6 separate regions of the Homo sapiens genome follow, and regions 1, 2, 3, 4 and 5 are each linked to region 6. Evidence: promoter capture Hi-C in 16 types of primary human blood cells and fetal thymus (Javierre and others, 2016). All regions are on one chromosome and are shown on one strand. Each heading gives the region's core, a stretch centred on a gene start or on the middle of the fragment in contact. The rest is flanking DNA. Distances are from core to core; before and after follow the strand shown. Region 1 overlaps TTLL4 (tubulin tyrosine ligase like 4). Region 2 overlaps TTLL4 (tubulin tyrosine ligase like 4). Region 3 holds the start of SLC11A1 (solute carrier family 11 member 1). Region 4 overlaps STK36 (serine/threonine kinase 36). Region 5 overlaps PNKD (PNKD metallo-beta-lactamase domain containing). Region 6 holds the start of USP37 (ubiquitin specific peptidase 37).

Region 1 (2,873 bases), core at 355-2,854, 150 kb after region 6:
CTATTTGGTTCCAGGCAAGTCAGTTCTATCTTCTTCTTTTTTTTTTTTTTGGAGACAGAGTCTTGCTCTGTCACCCAGGCTGGAGTGCAGTGGCACAGTCTCGGCTCACTGCAAGCTCCGCCTCCCGGGTTCAGGCCATTCTCCTGCCTCAGCCTCCCAAGTAGCTGGGACTGCAGGCGTCTGCCACCACGCCTTTTGTATTTTTAGTAGAGATGGGGTTTCACCGTGTTAACCAGGATGGTTTTGATCTCCTGACCTCGTGATCCACCTGCCTCAGCCTCCCAAAGTGTTGGGATTACAGGCGTGAGCCTGTCAGTTCTATCTTCTAACATAACTGTTGAGCAGTTGAGGTAATCTCATCAGAGATCTTGTGGACTGTAGACTGAACCATTTCTGATGTCCTGAGTTTCCCTGGTGACCGAGGGAAACACCTAGTTGAAGGAGGAAAGGGAAACTGCATTTCCCAAGAGCCACACTCTCTTGTAGGAGAGTGATTTAATTAGTGGGTAATGAATAATTGCTTTCTCTAGAAATAGATACCTTGTCCAAGTTGGTCTGGGCCTGGTCCCTGGAGACTTGTTGGTTTGCGACAGCAGCAATAGATTTTCTTTTCTTTTTTTTTTTTCTTTTGAGACGCAGTTTCACTCTTGTTGCCCAGGCTGGAGTGCAATGGCGCAATCTCGGCTCACCGCAACCTCTGCCTCCCAGGTTCAAGCGATTCTCCTGCCTCCACCTCCCAAGTAGCTGGGATTACAGGCATGCACCACCATGCCTGGCTAGTTTTGTATTTTTAGTAGAAATGGGGTTTCTCCATGTTGCTCAGGCTGGTTTCGAACTCTCGACCTCAGGTGATCTGCCCACCTCGGCCTCCCAAAGTACTGGGATTTCAGGCATGAACCACTGCGCCCGGCCAGCAATAGATTTTCTAACATAGGCTACTAATCATTCACACTCCTTTAAGGAGGAAACTTGAGGCAAAATCACCCCATAAAGATTGGAGGACAGAACTGTATAGGCAGTTTCCAAATGCTGCATGAAGATGACAAAGTAGGATGTTCAGATTCCTGAGAATGGGTGTTTTAAAGGGGAGAGTCTGGAGCCAGGGACATCAGTCAGGCTGCTTACCTTAACAGTCCTGCACTTGGTGTTAGAGGGGTTGGAGACTGGGCTGAGGCAGCCATGCAAATAGAAGGGGATGTTTCAGGCCATTTTGTTGATCCATACAACTTTCTGCAGTTTTTTATTCTTCACTCTTACCCCTTTATTCAAGTTTTATTTTTATTTTTAACAGTTTTGTGGAGGTATAATTCACATTGAACATATCCATCGTTTCTAAGTCAATTTTTTAAAAACTTTTGTTCTAGGAAGACTTAGTGTTCCATAAAGTTGTTGGGGGAGGAGACTTGGGCAATATTGCTAATAGGAGGCCAAACTGGACCAGGGTTCTTCCCACCCCCTTCTGCCAGCGTGGCTCTGTATTTGAGGTTAAAGATCCCCAGAGATTTCCTATAAAAGCCATCATGAAGCTTATAGGGCATATCACTAGGGTAAGTGAACAGTGGTGTGAGATAGCCTTGGGAAAGTATCACGTGAGAGGGACACACAACAGGTGCTCGTGGAGAGGGTGGGTCTTGAGCTGGGTCTGGAAAAGGTAAATAAAATATGGTAAGGATTCACAAGGAAGAAGCTTAGTGGAGTAAAGCCCTGCAGACAGGCATTTGAAAGGTTTATTCCAGGAATTTAGTGTAAGACCAGCGCAGTTCACATAACAGAGTTCAAGGTAGGAGGAAATGGAAATAAGCCTTAAAAAAAAAAAAAAAAAGATTAAGGGTCGACTATGGAGTCTTGTGGACCAAAGCTAAGAAATCTCACATGACAGTCATCTGGAATGCTTGTTAAAACTGCAGACTCATGGCCCTACTCCACACCAACTGAATCCTCTTGAAGGTGAATCTCAGGACTTTGCATCTCAGGTTATTCTGATGCAGGTGGGCCACCACAGTGTTTAGTAAGTGCTCATGGACCGTTTTTGAAAAGGGATTGACCTGATGAAGCAATACAGCAAAATTAATCTGGAGGTTGCCTGCAGGGTGGAATTAGGAAGGGCACACCTTGGAGACACATGCTTCAGTCAGTGCTGTTGCAGTAAGTCCAGATCTAGGGGCATGGTGGAAATAATAAAAGGAGGAAGAATGCTAAGTAGACAGAGTGTCTTAAATTTCATGACTGGTTTCCCTTTGGGGAAATAAAGTAAAGGAAAAAGTCAGAAATAACTTAGTTTTCCTCTTAGGTGATTTGGAGAAAGAAGGGTCCACTCAAGGAAATGGGACGATCAGGAGTGGAGAGCTAGTTTGACACACTAGATTGAAGTGGTTGGACATGCATTTGGAAAGGTGGAACAGGCAGTTGGTGATGCAGACATGAAACTTGAGACGACAAATCTGCAAAATGACTCTTCTGCAGATAATAGTTGACATTGTGAGAGAGATTGATTTGATGTGGGGGAGGATGAAAGAACTGGAGGATTTTGGATTGGCCTCAGGAGGAGGAAAGACACTATTGAAGGGGTTGGGTACAGCTGTGGCAGAGTGCACGCACTGAGTAAAAAATAGCAACAAGGAGATGGTGGTAAGAGGGGAACGCCTTTTTCATATGAATAGGTCCAACTCGTGGCTTTGCTGATGTGATATTGTGATATAATAAGAAATACTCCAGCCTGGTCAGCATGGTGAAACCCTGTCTCTACAAAAATACAAAAATTATCCGGGCACGATGGCGGGTGCCTGTAATCCCGGCTATTCGGGAGGCTGAGGCGGGAGAATTGCATGAACGCGGGAGGCAGAGGTTGCAGCGAGCCGAGATCGTACCATTGC
Region 2 (3,136 bases), core at 290-2,789, 170 kb after region 6:
GGACATTTCAAGTCAATTACCAGATATCCATTGATGGTTTTTTAGATGTAGAATGTTGTACTTATATGCTATGAGGGACACCAAAGAAAATGGAAAACATAGTGCCTCTTTGCAGAATGGGAGATGTAAGGTTGAGGAGCTATGCCTAGACCTAAGCTTTGAAGACAAAAGAAATGAGTTGTGAGGTCCAGGCAAGAAGTAGCAGATTGGTAATGGAGAAGGGGCAAATACTGGGAGATGATGAAGGAATGAGAATCTAACTGTGACCTCTTTGATGGAGTTGACTAGGCTGGGGGCATGATTCTTTCTTTTAGTTCAGCTACTGACCTCCAGCCAGATCAGGCTGAGACTGAAGATACAGAAGAAGAACTAGTAGATGGTTTGGAAGACTGTTGTAGCCGTGATGAGAATGAAGAGGAGGAGGGTGAGTAGGAAACCCTTTCACTTCCAACTAGGAGTTGGTTATGACCTGTTGGGCAGGGGGCTGACAATTGTGTACTAGGTCCTTGACTCACATTACCTACATCAGTCATTTGCTTTGGGGGTCTTAAGTGGGGGTAGTGCCTTCTAGAGGACTTGGGTCTCTAGTCCTCCTGTCCCACTGGTCTTACCTTCCCGCTGCTTCTGTTGAGGAAGGCAGTGCAAAGCAGCGGGGTGGTGCTTGTGGCTCCCCAAGAAGGGTTGAGCCCAGGATATTCAAGGAAGAGTTGCCTAGGCTTGGTAAGTTTGTGCTGCAGCCTCTTCTAGTCAGAATTTCTCTGTTCTTCCTTCCTCTAGGAGACTCAGAGTGCTCCTCATTAAGTGCTGTCTCCCCCAGCGAATCGGTGGCCATGATCTCTAGGTAAGTGTGGCTGTATAGATCATTGTTACATGCTCATCTTTTGTCTCTTAAAGATTATAAAGAGATAAACCACTCAAGTCATTAATGGCCTGGAGAACTCTAATGCATTTTTACCAAATTTTTATGTTTGCGACTTTAGTTTTTGAACAGGGAGTAATGGGGGGCCAGAAGCACATCTCATCTGTGGGGCTTAAAAACAGTATCATGGGCCAGGCGCAGTGGCTCACACCTGTAACCCCAGCACTTTGGAAGCTGAGGCAGGCGGATCTCCTGAGGTCAGGAGTTCGAGACTAGCCAAGCCAACATGGCAAAACCCTGTCTCTACTAAAAATATAAAAATTAGCAAGGTATGGTGGTGCACACCTGTAATCCCAGCTGCTCGGGAGGCTGAGGCACGAGAATCACTTGAACCTGGGAAGTGGAGGTTGCAGTGAGCTGAGATCGCGCTGCTGCACTCCAGCCTGGGTGATGGAGCAAGACTTTGTCTCAAAAACAAAACAACAACAACAACAACAGTATAATGGGCTGGGCGCAGTGGCTTATGCCTGTAATCCTAACACTTTGGGAGACTAAGATGGGTGGATCACTTGAGGCCAGGAGTTAGAGACCAGGCTGGCTAACGTGGTGAAACCCCATCTCTACTAAAAATGGAAACAATTAGCTGGGTATGGTGGCACACACCTGTAATCGTTGGCCTCCCAAAGTGCTCGGATTATAGGGCTGAGCCACTGCACCTGGCCCTAACTTTTAATTAAAACCTGTATATCACTGGGCTTGACCAATATATGGAGCACCCAGAGTCGGGTTGTTTTTCTTTGCATCAACCCTGCCTTAGATGAAGCTAAGAAGAAAGTGAGCCTTCTCTGCCTCGTTTAGCATGGACAAGACAGGCTGCATCTCTGTGAAATGTTATGGTGTGGCAGCAGCACACCAATTTTAGAGCCCCTAACCTGCAAGGTGGAGACAGAGCTGTTTGGAAAGTGGGAGCGAGAACTGGGATTCTCTGTGAAGGTGGATAGAAATCCCATCACGGGCACCCTGAGTCTGATGCATAAATTGTCACTTTCAGCCCAACCCATCCTCCTTCCAGAAAAGCAGAACTACTTCAGGTTATATATATTGGATATTGATTAAGTACCTCCACTCTTCATAGGAGAAAGATATTTGACATGTAATTGATTTGGAGTCCTACCTTTTTTACACTTAAGGGCCTACTTCAGGACTGCTACACAACCCTTTAGCCTTCCTGATATATAAGATAAAATTCACAAAAGGTGTTTGTTAATCATTTGCTCATTAATTAATTAACTTCTACAAATTGCACATAACTTTTTCTCTATATGAGGCTTAAACATAATTTTCAAGAAAATGGAAATATATATTTTTATTTTTTAGAGTCAGAGTCTTGCTCTGTTGCCCAGGCTAGAGTGCAGTGGATCCATCATAGCTTACTGTAACCTCGAACTCCTGGGCTCAAGCAATACTCCTGCCTCAGCCTCCTGAGCAGCTGGGACTACAGGACCACCCACCACACCCAGCTAATTAAAAAAAATTTTTTTTGTAGAGTTGTGGGGGAAGGTCTCATTATATTACCCAGGCTTGTCTTGAACTCTGGCCTCAAGTAATCCTCTTGCTTTAGCCTCCCAAAGCACTGAGATTAGTGGTCTGAGCCATTGCACCTGACCAAAAATGGAGATAGATGAATTCCAAACCACTTTGCATTTTAAAGATGAGTAAAATACTTTTGGATTGCTAAAATCTTATTTTTTCTCTATTATGAAACATTTGTATATTATGGAAAATTTGGCAACCACTGAAAAACAGAAAAATCATTGGAAACACTACCTGTTTCTTTACACAGCAGTACTTTCATTGCATTTCCTGTTGTTGTGCTCTAAGAATCATGTAATTTTAGAGATGGAAGCCATCAAGTCCAGTGTAAATATTGAGGACCAGAGAAGTGAAGCAGCTGTTCCAAGGTCATAGTTTCTAGCATGGCTAGACTAGAAGCCAGGTCTCTTGAGGAGAAGTTCAGGATTCTTGTGAGACAACTCACAAGGGTTTTTTGTTTGTTTTTTAAATTAAGCTTGTGATATTGAGATAATTATAGATTTCACATGCAGTTGTAAGAAAGAATGCAGAGAGGTCCCCTGTACTGTCTACTCAGTTTCCCCCATTGGGTAACATCTTGCAGAAGTACAATATAGTACACTTGGGATGTTGTTAACATTGTTAGAGTCAAGATATAGAACATCTTGCCGGGTGCAGTAGCTCACGCCTGTAACCCCAGCACTT
Region 3 (2,984 bases), core at 372-2,871, 190 kb before region 6:
CCAAAGTGCTGGGATTACAGGCATGAGCCACCACACCCGGTCATGCCCAGCTAATTTTTAAATTTTTTGTAGAGATGAGATCTCACTATGTTGCCCAGGCTGGTCTCAAACTCCTGTGAGCCCCTCAGTTAATAGAAGAAACAGTCAAGCATGGTGGCATAGGTCTGTATTCCCAGCTACCCGAGAGGCTGAGAAGGGAGGCTCTCTTGAGCTCAAGAGTTTAAGGCTATATGCCAGGCATGGTGGCTCACACCTGTAATCCCAGCACTTTGGGAGGTTGAGGTGGGTGGATCACTTGAGACCAGGAGTTCGAGACCAGCCTGGCCAACATAGTGAAACCCCGTCTCTACTAAAAAAAATACAAAAATTGGCTGGGCACAGTGGCTCACACCTGTAATCCCAGCACTTTGGGAGACTGAGGCGGGCGGATCACAAGGTCAGGAGTTTGAGACCAGCCTGGCCAACATGGTGAAATCCCATCTCTACTAAAAATACAAAAATTAGCCAGGTGTGGTTGGCAGGTGCCTGTAATCCCAGCTACTCAGGAGGCTGAGGAAGAAGAATTACTTGAACCCAAGAGGCAGAGGTTTCGGTGAGCCAAGGTCGCGCCATTGCACTTCAGCCTGGGTGACAGAGCAAGACGCCATCTCAAAGTAAATAAATACATACATACATACATACATACAAAAAGTAGCCGGGTGTGGTGGTGCATGCCTGTAGTCCCAGCTACTCAGGAGGCTGAGGCAGGAGAATTGCTTAAACATGGAGGACAGAGGTTGCAGTGAGCTGAGATTATGCCACTGCACTCCAGTCTGGGCAACAGAGTAAGACTCTGTCTCAAAAAAAAAAAAAAAAGGAGTTTGAGGCTGCAGTAAACTAAGATGGCACCACTGCACTTCACACCTCACTCTAGCCTGGGTGACAGAGCGAGACCTTGTCTCTAAAAAAAAAAACAAAAAACGAAAAACCAAAAAAAAAAAGGGTGGGGGTGGAATAGAATAAACAACTCTGAGAAGGGACATGATCTGGTGACAATCTCAAGTGAATCAGTGGTTGAACCAGGACCAGATCCCAGTGCCCCATCTTCTGGGGACGTCCTGGGTCTGAATCTTCAATGCATGTCCCTTCTGCAGTGCCTTCCTCTGTGGCCCTCAAAGGGAAACTGAAGCCTTTGAGGACATGAAGACTCGCATTAGGCCAACGAGGGGTCTTGGAACTCCAGATCAAAGAGAATAAGAAAGACCTGACTCTGTGTGTGTGTACGTGTGTGTGTACGTGTGTGTGTGTGTGTGTGGCAGAGGGGGGTGTGGTCATGGGGTATTGACATGAATACGCAAGGGGCAGGAAGCATCTGAAATCAGAGCTAACTTGGGAGGCACAGAACACGGGGTGCCTGGAAGGGGAACAGATGTGTTGTGGGGCACAGGGCAGGCTGGGAGGGGAACAAAGGTCCACTCCATGGGTAACCAGACCCTTCCGCCAGGGCTGGCCACTTCTGCCTTTGGAAAATGTTTCACAACGCCCCATGTTGTGTGTGTGTGTGAATCGGCCGATGTGAACCGAATGTTGATGTAAGAGGCAGGGCACTCGGCTGCGGATGGGTAACAGGGCGTGGGCTGGCACACTTACTTGCACCAGTGCCCAGAGAGGGGGTGCAGGCTGAGGAGCTGCCCAGAGCACCGCTCACACTCCCAGAGTACCTGAAGTCGGCATTTCAATGACAGGTGAGTAGTGGCCCCTAGGGACAGAGCCTGATTGGGGGGTGGAGTGGAGGAGATCACTAGGCTGGTGGAGACTTGAGGAAGCAAGAAAGCCCTTGGTCCCCTGTGGAAGCCTCTGGTCCCCCGTGGGAGTCCTAGTCTAGAACACAGTTCTGGACACCAGACTCAATCTCACTGGGTGGAGTCCTTCACACCCCTAAGCGGTCTACCTTTCCTTTGTCTGAAGTCCGTGGATCAAAGCCCCTGGAGCTTTCTGGGCTGCCGGAGAAGGTGAGGGGTCCAGCCAAGGGGCAGACATGTGGCCTCAGCTTGCCCTTCTTAGAGCCTAGGGTCTCTCTGCATTCTCTGTGGCAGGAGATCTGCCTCTGGGCATCTGTCCTCACATGAGAGGACAGTAATTCTGAAGCTGCCATGTCCCACACATCTGGAATGTTTGTTTGAGAGGTGGAGGTGATGGACCCAAGATGGGGGCCAGGGACCTTAGTTTCTCCACTTTTCCGGGAGGAGGAGGGAAAGGATCAGGCGGCTTTAACTCTGGGCCACCAGAAAGAGGCAGGACACTCACCATGCTTCATGGGCCCCCACAGGTGACAAGGGTCCCCAAAGGCTAAGCGGGTCCAGCTATGGTTCCATCTCCAGCCCGACCAGCCCGACCAGCCCAGGGCCACAGCAAGCACCTCCCAGAGAGACCTACCTGAGTGAGAAGATCCCCATCCCAGACACAAAACCGGTGGGATGCTGGAAACTTCCTGGGGGCTTGCAAGATTGACAGGATCCTGAAGGATCCCATGGGCTGGAGAATGGGGTCTCCTTATGATCATGGGTGGCAAGTCCCTTCCAGGTCTGAGCAGCAGTGGTGGACAGTGGCAACTGCCCCTTCCTGCTTCCGTCCCCAGTGCTTAGCTGGGGTGCTTCAGTATTTGTCTAAAAGCGATTAAATGACTTTCTCAATGAATCTCAGCTTTCCTATGAAGGAAAAGAGGCCCAGGGGGAATTGGGATTGGAGCCTTGAGGACATGTTATAGCATTTAGGAAAGGGCATAGGGAGAAGTGAAGGAGGCTGCAGGCTGGCATCTAGCATCTAGGATGCTGTCACCTGCATTTCCAGTATCTTCTCTTTTTTTGGAGATGGAGTCTCGCTCTGTAGCCCAGGCTGGAGTGCAGTGGCGCGATCTCAGCTCACTGCAACCTCCGCTTCCCAAGTTTAAGCGATTCTCCTGCCCCGGCCTCCCGAGTAGCTGGGATTACAGGCATGCACCACCA
Region 4 (3,093 bases), core at 511-3,010, 130 kb after region 6:
AAAAATACAAAAATTAGCTGGGTGTGGTGGCAGGCGCCTGTAATCCCAGCTTCTCGGGAGGCTAAGGCAAGAGAATCCCTTGAACCTGGGAGGAGGAGGTTGCAGTGAGCGGAGATCATGCCTCTGCATTCCAGCCTGGGTGACATAGCGAGACTCTGTCTCAAAAAAAAAAAAAAGCCCATTGGAAATCACAGATATCTACATATGGTAATATAAATTATGACATCTCAAAGTGGTAGCATTGGGAAGTTCATGCAGAGCAGAAATTTGAGAGGATGGTGAAGATCTTTTTTTTTTTTTTGAGACGGAGTCTCACTTTGTCGCCCCCAGGCTGGAGTGCAGTGGCGCGATCTTGGCTCACTGCAAGCTCTGCCTCCCGGGTTCACGCCATTCTGCCTCAGCCTCCCGAGTAGCTGGGACTACAGGCACCTGCCGCCACACCCAGCTAATTTTTTGTATTTTTTTTTTTTTTAGTAGAGACGGGGTTTCACCGTGATAGCCAGGATGGTCTCGATGTCCTGACCTCGTGACCCGCCCGCCTTGGCCTCCCAAAGTACGGGATTACAGGCATGAGCCACCTTGCCTGGCCGATGGTGAAGATCCTATAGGAATCTTGTGCAATCCATGGGGAAAATAATTAATGGGATTCTTGGTGGTAATGAGGTTAGAACTCACTGGTCTGCATTGAAGGCTAGGAATTAGACCTTTTGGCTTACTGTGAGTTACTGCTGCATTCATCAAGTCTTCCTGGGGACAAGTATATGTGTCCCTTAGTGCCTTGGTTTCATGGTCTATAACCAAAGAGAATGGAAGTAGACTTCTGGTCCTGATGATTCCTATCTCCAAGGTTTCTCTTCTGCCATTCAGTCTATTCCAAGTCCCCAAGAGCCCATTTCCTTTTTCTTCCTCTTCTCGAGTGGGAATTCCTGGGTAAATGAGAGTCCTCCGCACCTGCCCCAGACACCACCATTTCTGAGCCTCATGTTCTGTTCTATCATCTGTTCTCTATCCTACAGGTACTGGTGTCCCTGGGTGCCAGTGAGAAACTATCCTTGCTCTCTCTGGGGAATCAGTCACTGCCACACAGCAGTCCTAGGCCTGCCTCTGCCAAACACTGCAGGAAACTCATTCACCTCCTGAGGCCAGCCCATAGCATGTGATTCCAGATTCCTGCGGTCCAGCCTCCAACTTTGGTTGCCAGCTCTTTCTTATTCTACTACACAAGCCGCCAACTCAACTGAGAGCTAAAGAGACTAGAAAAGAGATAAGCTGCCAACTCAACTGAGAACAAGAAACTAGAAGAGATTTATATATAAAGCTTCTTCCTTCTCCCAGATGCAGGATGTTTTCAACCAGTAAATTTTATTGCTGTTGGTGCCAGAGAAGAGTCCTTTCTTCTCTACATCCAGGGGCCTTTTCTCCAATAATGTGCCTTTAACTCTAGGGACCTGCCTCACGGACCTTAGGGAAAAACCTCAACCTGAAAGATCTCTTCCTTTCTGGAGCTCCTTTAATCTTCCCAGCAGGTTTTTGCCTTAGACGTGCTGGCCCCAGGACAGTGATGAAGACAGAGCCTGTCTCAGCTCTAGGCTGTGGGGATCAATGCCATCAGTCCCTGTTATTGAGGGATTATCCCTTAGCCAACATTCCTATCTGTGGGTGGGCGTGGAGAGTGTATCTTTTTTTGGGGTGTGTGTGTATATGTGTGTGTGTATGTGTGTGTGTGTTTAATAGTTCTGTTTGTAAACTCTTTTAATAAAAGTTGTGCCTCACCATACTTGAAGCTCCCAGGACAAGGGTTGAGAGGCTCAACCCCTCTTTCAGCTTCTATGTGGTGTTGGAGGTGCTGGTATCGTGTTCACACAAGATCCTGGTCTGGCAGCTTATTTATATCATTTCTTGCCTTTACCAATTTCCCCCTTCCTAGATGAACTATATTTGGTTACCTACTTTCAAGTCAAGGCCGGTGGAGCTGAAATAGGAAAGGGTAAGATTCAACAGAGCGGTCAATTAGGTTGCTCAGACTTAGTGACTAATTTTAATATTTAGTGGAGTTCTAATGTGTAGGGACTCCAAGCTGCTGTAGAAGGATAGCTATTTTAAAGATTGTACAATTTACCAGAAAGGGCTTTTAGTCAGACCTGTTAGAATTATAATCTAACTGGAAGCATTGGAAAACCTTAACTCATTGGATGGCTTAGAACAAGCTTCCAGGGCCTTGATTTCTCCATCCATAAAATGAGGAGACTCCTTTCTGTCCTTCCTTAAATTCCAGTTGTTTTAGAAATGAAAGACAAGTAAAGTGCCCTTATTTTTATAAGAAATTTTGTTTAACCCTCATCTTCATTGTCCACAGTGTTTATACTTTAGCAAAAATAATATTTTTCTAGGGAGCACCATAATTTTCTTCTATCCAGATTATCTCAATTCAGTTCAATGTATATTTTTTGAGTCCTTTCTGTATGCCAGATACTATTCTAGGTACAGGAGATAAAACAGTGCCCATCATAGAGTTTCCATTCTGGTCGGGGAGATAGTGAAATTATTAAAAGAATAGTATGTAGGAAGGTGGTAAAAGCTATGGAGAAAAAGAAACCAGGGAAAGGAGATGAGGAGTGCTGAGTCGGATGGTCAGGGTAGGCCTCACTAGAAGGTGACACTTGAGAAAAGACTCGAAGGAGGCGAGGGAGTGAGTTGTGCACCTATTTTGGGGAAAAGCCAAGGCCCTGAGATGAAAGCATGCCTGGCATGCTTGAGGAGCTATGAGGAACCAGTATGGATTAAGTGAGTAAAGAAGGTGGAGAATAGTAGGAAATGAGACAGGAAGGTAATGGTGGGGGCCAGATATTGTAGGCTTTGTAGACCTTGGTGAAGACTTGGGCTCTTACTTTGAATGAAGGAGGCATCTATTGCAGGCTTTTGAACAGAGAATTTTATGAACTACCTTGCATCCTAAACGGATCATTCTTCATTCTGGTCTTGTGAATGGCTATGGGGAGTAGGGGAGAATGCGAAGTAGGATAAGCAGTTAGGAGGCTATTGTTATAATAATCCAGGCAAGAGACAATGGTGTCCTGGATGGCGACTGGGGTG
Region 5 (3,072 bases), core at 271-2,770, 220 kb before region 6:
CCTGTTTTATCCGCAGCCCTTTTCTTCTTTGAGTTAGTAAAGATTTATTCTGTAACCTGACACTCATCTGGCCCTTTGCAGTTTGCCAGCCATATTCCCATGTGATTTCCCACTGGATCCAGGCCCCCATCCGGCTGGCAGGAGGGGGCTCTGACGTGCAGGTTGGAAATCAGAAGTCTGTGAGAGCGCGGGAGTGCATGGCAGCTCTGGGTCCCAGACCTGGCCCGACCCCTCTGCTTCACCTCCAGCTCTGCTGCTCCTCTACTCTTGGGTCGAGATCCCTTTGGAGCCACAGCGAGGAACCCTGTGGTCCTCAGGCAGGTGTACCTTGAGTCAGCCAGGAGCCCTCTTTTCCTGTGTCAAAGCCTGCCCTCGGGCTCTGCTCACCTCTGGTGACCCTCCAAGATGCCCCTGCCCTCAGTTTCCCCTCATGATCTGGCCTCTGCCCCCTTCTCTAGCCACAGCCTCTAGTACACTTTAGCAATACCACCAGACTAGTTAGAGTTCCCCACTCACCAAGCAAGACATGCAGTTTCATGCCTCTGTGCCTTCGCTCATGCTGTTTCTTCCGACTGGAATGCCTTCCCCTGCTCCTCCTGCCTTGTCTGCCTGGCAAGTTCATCTCTCACGATCCCCTCAAAGGCCCCCTCCTCCAGGAAGGCAACCCCTGTGCCCCTCCCCTCCAGGCTACCTCTGCACTTTGTCAATGCTTCTCTTGTGGCACTTATCACACTGTATTTTACTTGTTTACATGTTTGTCTCCCCTTCTAGACTGTGAATCCTTAAGGGCATGGACTGTATCTTATGCATCTCTGTATTTCTGCGCCTAGCACGGTGCCTAGCACACAGTAGGCGCTCAATAAATGTTGAATGAATGAATGATTTAATCAAGACTTGATCACCCAACAGCTTGTCTTTGTTGCTACATGAGTGAAAACAGCAGAGAACTTTCTCACAGTTTTCCCATCTCAGTTCCAGGCCTGCTAACTTGCAGTTAGGCACTTCAAGAGTTTTGATCAGAAATGATGCCCAAAGGCTGGGCGCAGTGGCTCACACCTATAATCCCAGCTCTTTAGGAGGCTGAGGCGGGTGGATCACAAGGTCAGGAGTTCGAGACCAGTCTGGCCAACATAGTGAAACCTCATCTGTACTACAAATACAAAAAATTAGCCAGACATAGTGGCAGGAGCCTATAATCCCAGCTACTCAGGAGGCTGAGGCAGGAGAATCACGTGAACCCAGGAGGCGGAGGTTGCAGTGAGCCGAGATCGCACCACTGCACTCCAGCCTGGGCGACAGAATGAGACTCTGTCTCAAAAAAAAAAAAAATTTTTTTAAAAAGAGAGAGAGAAATGATGCCTAAAATATGTTCTTCCCAAGGCCCATGGGCATTTGTTCAGGGTTTACGATTTGCTTATCTCAATGTTTCCCAAAGCTTGAGATACACAAGTGTACCACTGGCCAAAGTAGGGTGGCTGTACATGGCCACAGCACAGCAATCAATTGGACTTCAAGGACACGGTCTTGGCACTAGTCTGTCTTTAATGTCTTTGGAAAGAAAGACCCGGGATCCAGGTTCATACTTTAGTTGGGAAATGTCTGTAGTTAAGCTTTAACAACATCGTTTTGTTTTCATTATATTTATATTTGGGTTCAATATTTATTTTTGACAAGTGACACTGGTTTTCAGTTCATAAAAATGATTAAAGGGCCGGGCGTGGTGGCTCACGCCTGTAATCCCAGCACTTTGGGAGGCTGAGGCAGGCGGATCACGAGGTCAGGAGATCACGACCATCCTGGCCAACATGGTGAAACCCCGTCTCTACTAAAAATACAAAACTTAGCAAGGCATGATGGTGAGCGCCTGTAATCCCAGCTACCCAGGAGACTGAGGCACGAGAATCGCTGAACCCGGGAGGCAGAGGTTGAAGTAGGCCAAGATCGCACCACTGTACTCCAGCCTGGGCAACAGAGGGAGATTCTGTCCCAAAAAAAAAAAAGATGAAATTTGGGTGGGGACAAAAAGCCACACCATATCATTATAATAGAACAACTTATATTCCTTTGGGTATATAACCAGTAATGGGATTGCTGGGTCGAATGGTAGTTCTGTCTTTAGGTCTTTGAGGAAACACCACACTGTCTTCCACTTTGGTTGAACAAATTTACACTCCCGCCAACAGTGTATAAGCGTTCCTTTTACTCTACAACCTTTCCAGCGTCTGTTATTTTTTGACTTTTTAATAACAGCCATTCTGACTTGTGTGAGATGGTATCTCATTGTGGTTTTGATTTGCATTTCTCTAATGATGAGTGATGTTGAGCTTTTATTCATATGTTTGTTGTCCACATGTATGTCTTCTTTTATTTATTTATTTATTTATTTTTAATTGATCATTCTTGGGTGTTTCTCGCAGAGGGGGATTTGGCAGGGTTATAGGACAATAGTGGAGGGAAGGTCAGCAGATAAACAAGTGAACAAAGGTCTCTGGTTTTCCTAGGCAGAGGACCCTGCGGCCTTCCGCAGTGTTTGTGTCCCTGGGTACTTGAGATTAGGGAGTGGTGATGACTCTTAACGAGCATGCTGCCTTCGAGCATCTGTTTAACAAAGCACATCTTGCACCGCCCTTAATCCATTTAACCCTGAGTGGACACAGCACATGTTTCAGAGAGCACAGGGTTGGGGGTAAGGTCATAGATCAACAGCATCCCAAGGCAGAAGAATTTTTCTTAGTACGGAACAAAATGGAGTCTCCTATGTCTACTTCTTTCTACACAGACACAGCAACAATCTGATTTCTCTATCTTTTCCCCGCATTTCCCCCTTTTCTATTCCACAAAACCACCATCGTCATCATGGCCCGTTCTCAATGAGCTGTTGGGTACACCTCCCAGATGGGGTGGCCGCCAGGCAGAGGGGCTCCTCACTTCCCAGAAGGGGTGGCCGGGCAGAGGCGCCCCCCACCTCCCAACGGGGCGGCGGCCGGGCGGAGGCGCCCCCAACCTCCCGGACGGGGCGGCTGGCCGGGCGGGGGCTGTCCCCCCCTCCCTCCCTGATGGGGCGGCTGGCCG
Region 6 (2,722 bases), core at 15-2,514:
TATAGATCAAATTTAAAGCTTAGGGAGGAATATAAGAGTAAAAGAAGAGGACCTAGGACTGAACCCAAATACTCATTTTACTTCATCAAACATCTTTAAGACAAGTGAGTACTTTTATATCACTGGGTTTTTCAGTCCTCCTTCCATTTTACCTTTCAGCAGAATGCAACACTACTGATGACTTTTTTCATGGCTTGCAAGACGCATCCTCCTCTATTGGTTATTAAACAGCAGGAATTCGTCAATGCTCCATCCTAGGTGCCTTTATTTTACAGCACTATACTCTTTTTCGGCAATTTCATCCACATCCATGGCTTCAATTACTATCAATATGGCAGATGACAAACACATACACACACCGCGCACATTTACGTACGCAGCCCAGAACTCTCCTAAGATCTCCAAACCCACTATATCCAACTGCCTACTTGACATTCCCTCTCAGGTATCTCTTCCAGTTAGACACTTGTCAGGAATTGCCACCTCAATAAAGGAATTTATACAGAGCTGAAATTTTGAGAGGAATACCCCAAAACCACTTTAGGACAACTCTTCAGGACACAGGATTTTATCATCAATCATCATTTCCTTTCATGGATCATGACTTAAAATAGTTACATCTAACAACCTGATCTGGCGGCTAGAAATGGGCGCAAGGAAATGCACAACAAAAATACAATTCATGTTTTGCAGTGAGGACTGGTCAAGAGGAAGGTGAAGATGGTCAAGAGAGTGAATGAGTATCATGTCCAAGGCCTGGTGGATGTGCCGTAACGAAAGTCACCTGAAGAGACAGCAGGCCCTGTTAGAAGGTAAGAGGCGAACGACAACAGCCCCAGAGAAAAGGGGCCAGGTTTGAGTTTCGGAGGGAGCGAGTGGCAGTGGAGACCAAGTCAAAGGAGAGGTGGAAGCCGGGGCAGTGCACCCAAAGGTAGTACCTGTGAGGCTGGGGGTGCATCGAGGGGTTGTGGGCGGGCTGAGTAGCAGCAGGGCGAACTCCAGAGGAGTGAACGCCGAGTGGGCGGATCGCACAGAAGGAGGAGGAGGTAGGGAAAACGGCTCAATTGAGAAGCTACCCCGGCCCGCCTTACCTGCGCCGAGGGTCCGGAGCCCCCGGACAGACCCGCGGAAAGCACGGAGCCCGCGAGGAGTGGGAGGAGCCGAGGGTAATGGAAGTAGGGATACCGAACCCAAAGGAGGGAGGCCGCTAGCTACCCCTAGTCAGGGAGAGCGGCTGATGGCGGGAACTGTGACCACACGCAAACACGCACGCACGCACGCACACTCGACGCGACCAGACAGGCGCGTGCGCGTCAGTCGAAAACTCCGCCCCTCACACGCCCTCGCCCCGCCCCGCCAGTACCTAGAGCGGCCTAGCCCGGGCAGCCCCGCCCCTGCCGTGACTGTAGTAGGCACGCGCACTTTCCACCTCACCCGATTTCGACGCCCCCCCACCATTTCCCTCCTACGCAACCCAGTCGGGCATGCGCAATAGTTGTCTTGCCGGGACTGTCCATCTTTTCCCGCCGTTCACTGGCTTTTGGAGGAGGGTCAGAGTTCACGCCGCTCTCTGGAAATAACTGCTCAAAGCCAGAAGTTGCGGGGACTAGTGGTCGCGGACGTCCTTCCGGTCCTAAATCTTAAGGGGCAAAGGACATACTCTGGGACTGTTAACTAGGCCCTGGAGGCGGGAAGAGGATGTGTGGGTGGGGTCAGGGGTGAGAGGTCAGAGGGCCGCGAAGTGGGCGGAGCGAGCCGGAGTCGGATGGCGGCTACGGCGGCTCATTGTTTTCCGCTGCAGGGGTGCTGAAGGGGGGACGCGGGTCGGACGCGTCCGGCTGTGGAAGAGAGCGGCGGCCGCTCACAACATGCACAGCCTGGCGACGGCTGCGGTGAGTGGCTGGGCCCCCAGGCTTGGAACCAGAATCCTTTCTCAGACCCACGTTTCGGCCTTCTCTCCTAATTCCCGGTGTCGGGTCCCTAGTCTGATTTTTTTCTGCCCTCAATCTCCAAGGCCCCGGTTCCCCTCCTCGGCACGCTTTGGTTGTGGTGGAGCCGGCCCCTATTTCCTTGCCGGACGCCTCTCGCGGCCTTCAGCGCGACCCATCGCGTTCTTTGCGGGCGCCGGGGCCTGGTCCCACGCCCGTAGCAGGCCATTCATTGATTTATTGCGCTGACCAACAGTTTCAGGGCGCCAGTTGTGTTCTGGGCGCCGGCGTCGATGAGGGGAATTCCATGGTCAATCTGACGCGGCCCCTGCTCTTAGAACTCACCACGTCGCAGCGGGAAGGAAATGGCTTCTAGTTCAAACCACTTGCTTTATTTATGGAAAACCTGAGGCCCGGAAAAGTGCATAATTTTTGCATCTGACTTAGGTTCTCTGCATTTAAAACTTTTCCTCGACACATCTCGTTTTACCCGCGTGATCTTTTAACAAAAAAGAAAGATAGTGTAATTCAGCTATCCGAAGTAATCCTACTTCTCTTGGCATTTAAATAAAATCTAGACTCCTTGCCATAGCCTGCACGGCCCTGTATGATGTGGTACTTAACCCACGTTTATAATCTCGTTTTATGTCTCTTGCTCCTAAAGCTTCAGCTACTCTGGCCACCTAACCCTCTGCAACGCGCTTATTTTTCTCCAAGATGCACTTTGTGGTCTCTATGCCTGGAGTGAATGTTCTTCTTATCCCTCCTCCTTTACATACACAGCATGAGTGTAA

What was found. Contacts are between HindIII fragments. The CHiCAGO score rates a contact against its expected background, and 5 or more counts as called.
Region 1: a fragment that was not itself captured here is called in contact with the fragment with the promoter of USP37 in region 6 in 2 of 17 cell types (naive B cells and total CD8 T cells); the score reaches 5.5 in naive B cells.
Region 2: a contact is called between a fragment that was not itself captured here and the fragment with the promoter of USP37 in region 6, in 1 of 17 cell types (monocytes). The highest score is 5.6, in monocytes.
Region 3: a contact is called between the fragment with the promoter of SLC11A1 here and the fragment with the promoter of USP37 in region 6, in 2 of 17 cell types (neutrophils and monocytes). The highest score is 6.0, in neutrophils.
Region 4: a fragment that was not itself captured here is called in contact with the fragment with the promoter of USP37 in region 6 in 9 of 17 cell types (total CD8 T cells, naive CD4 T cells, fetal thymus and 6 more); the score reaches 7.2 in total CD8 T cells.
Region 5: a fragment that was not itself captured here is called in contact with the fragment with the promoter of USP37 in region 6 in 3 of 17 cell types (total CD8 T cells, naive CD8 T cells and naive B cells); the score reaches 6.6 in total CD8 T cells.

Annotation. Positions count from the first base shown.
Region 1 is chr2:218,717,766-218,720,638 of GRCh38, forward strand. The region is part of intron 1 of TTLL4 (tubulin tyrosine ligase like 4); the gene reads left to right. Among named protein-coding and RNA genes, the nearest start is that of TTLL4, 8.4 kb to the left of the region's middle. RefSeq lists a silencer at 1,801-2,098. The HindIII fragment of the contact is 161 bases long and covers 1,525-1,685 here.
Region 2 is chr2:218,739,744-218,742,879 of GRCh38, forward strand. TTLL4 (tubulin tyrosine ligase like 4) reads left to right here. Exons shown (of 20, transcript NM_014640.5): 4 at 315-424; 5 at 778-841. Among named protein-coding and RNA genes, the nearest start is that of TTLL4, 30 kb to the left of the region's middle. The HindIII fragment of the contact is 2,771 bases long and covers 155-2,925 here.
Region 3 is chr2:218,380,652-218,383,635 of GRCh38, forward strand. SLC11A1 (solute carrier family 11 member 1) reads left to right here and starts at 1,622. Exons shown (of 15, transcript NM_000578.4): 1 at 1,622-1,724; 2 at 2,309-2,451. The coding sequence starts at 1,718. The HindIII fragment of the contact is 6,449 bases long and covers 1-2,984 here.
Region 4 is chr2:218,700,850-218,703,942 of GRCh38, forward strand. It overlaps STK36 (serine/threonine kinase 36), which reads left to right. Exons shown (of 27, transcript NM_015690.5): 27 at 1,017-1,866. The coding sequence ends at 1,160. Among named protein-coding and RNA genes, the nearest start is that of TTLL4, 8.4 kb to the right of the region's middle. The HindIII fragment of the contact is 889 bases long and covers 1,317-2,205 here.
Region 5 is chr2:218,345,901-218,348,972 of GRCh38, forward strand. PNKD (PNKD metallo-beta-lactamase domain containing) reads left to right here. Exons shown (of 10, transcript NM_015488.5): 10 at 1-893. All of the region lies in intron 2 of CATIP-AS2 (CATIP antisense RNA 2), which reads right to left. Among named protein-coding and RNA genes, the nearest start is that of MIR6810, 5.5 kb to the left of the region's middle. RefSeq lists an enhancer at 3,014-3,072. The HindIII fragment of the contact is 175 bases long and covers 1,434-1,608 here.
Region 6 is chr2:218,567,087-218,569,808 of GRCh38, forward strand. It overlaps USP37 (ubiquitin specific peptidase 37), which reads right to left and starts at 1,265. Exons shown (of 26, transcript NM_020935.3): 1 at 1,092-1,265. It overlaps CNOT9 (CCR4-NOT transcription complex subunit 9), which reads left to right and starts at 1,753. Exons shown (of 8, transcript NM_005444.3): 1 at 1,753-1,892. The coding sequence starts at 1,869. RefSeq lists enhancers at 1,108-1,735, 1,736-2,363, 2,158-2,347 and silencers at 1,228-1,297, 1,388-1,447. The HindIII fragment of the contact is 2,574 bases long and covers 17-2,590 here.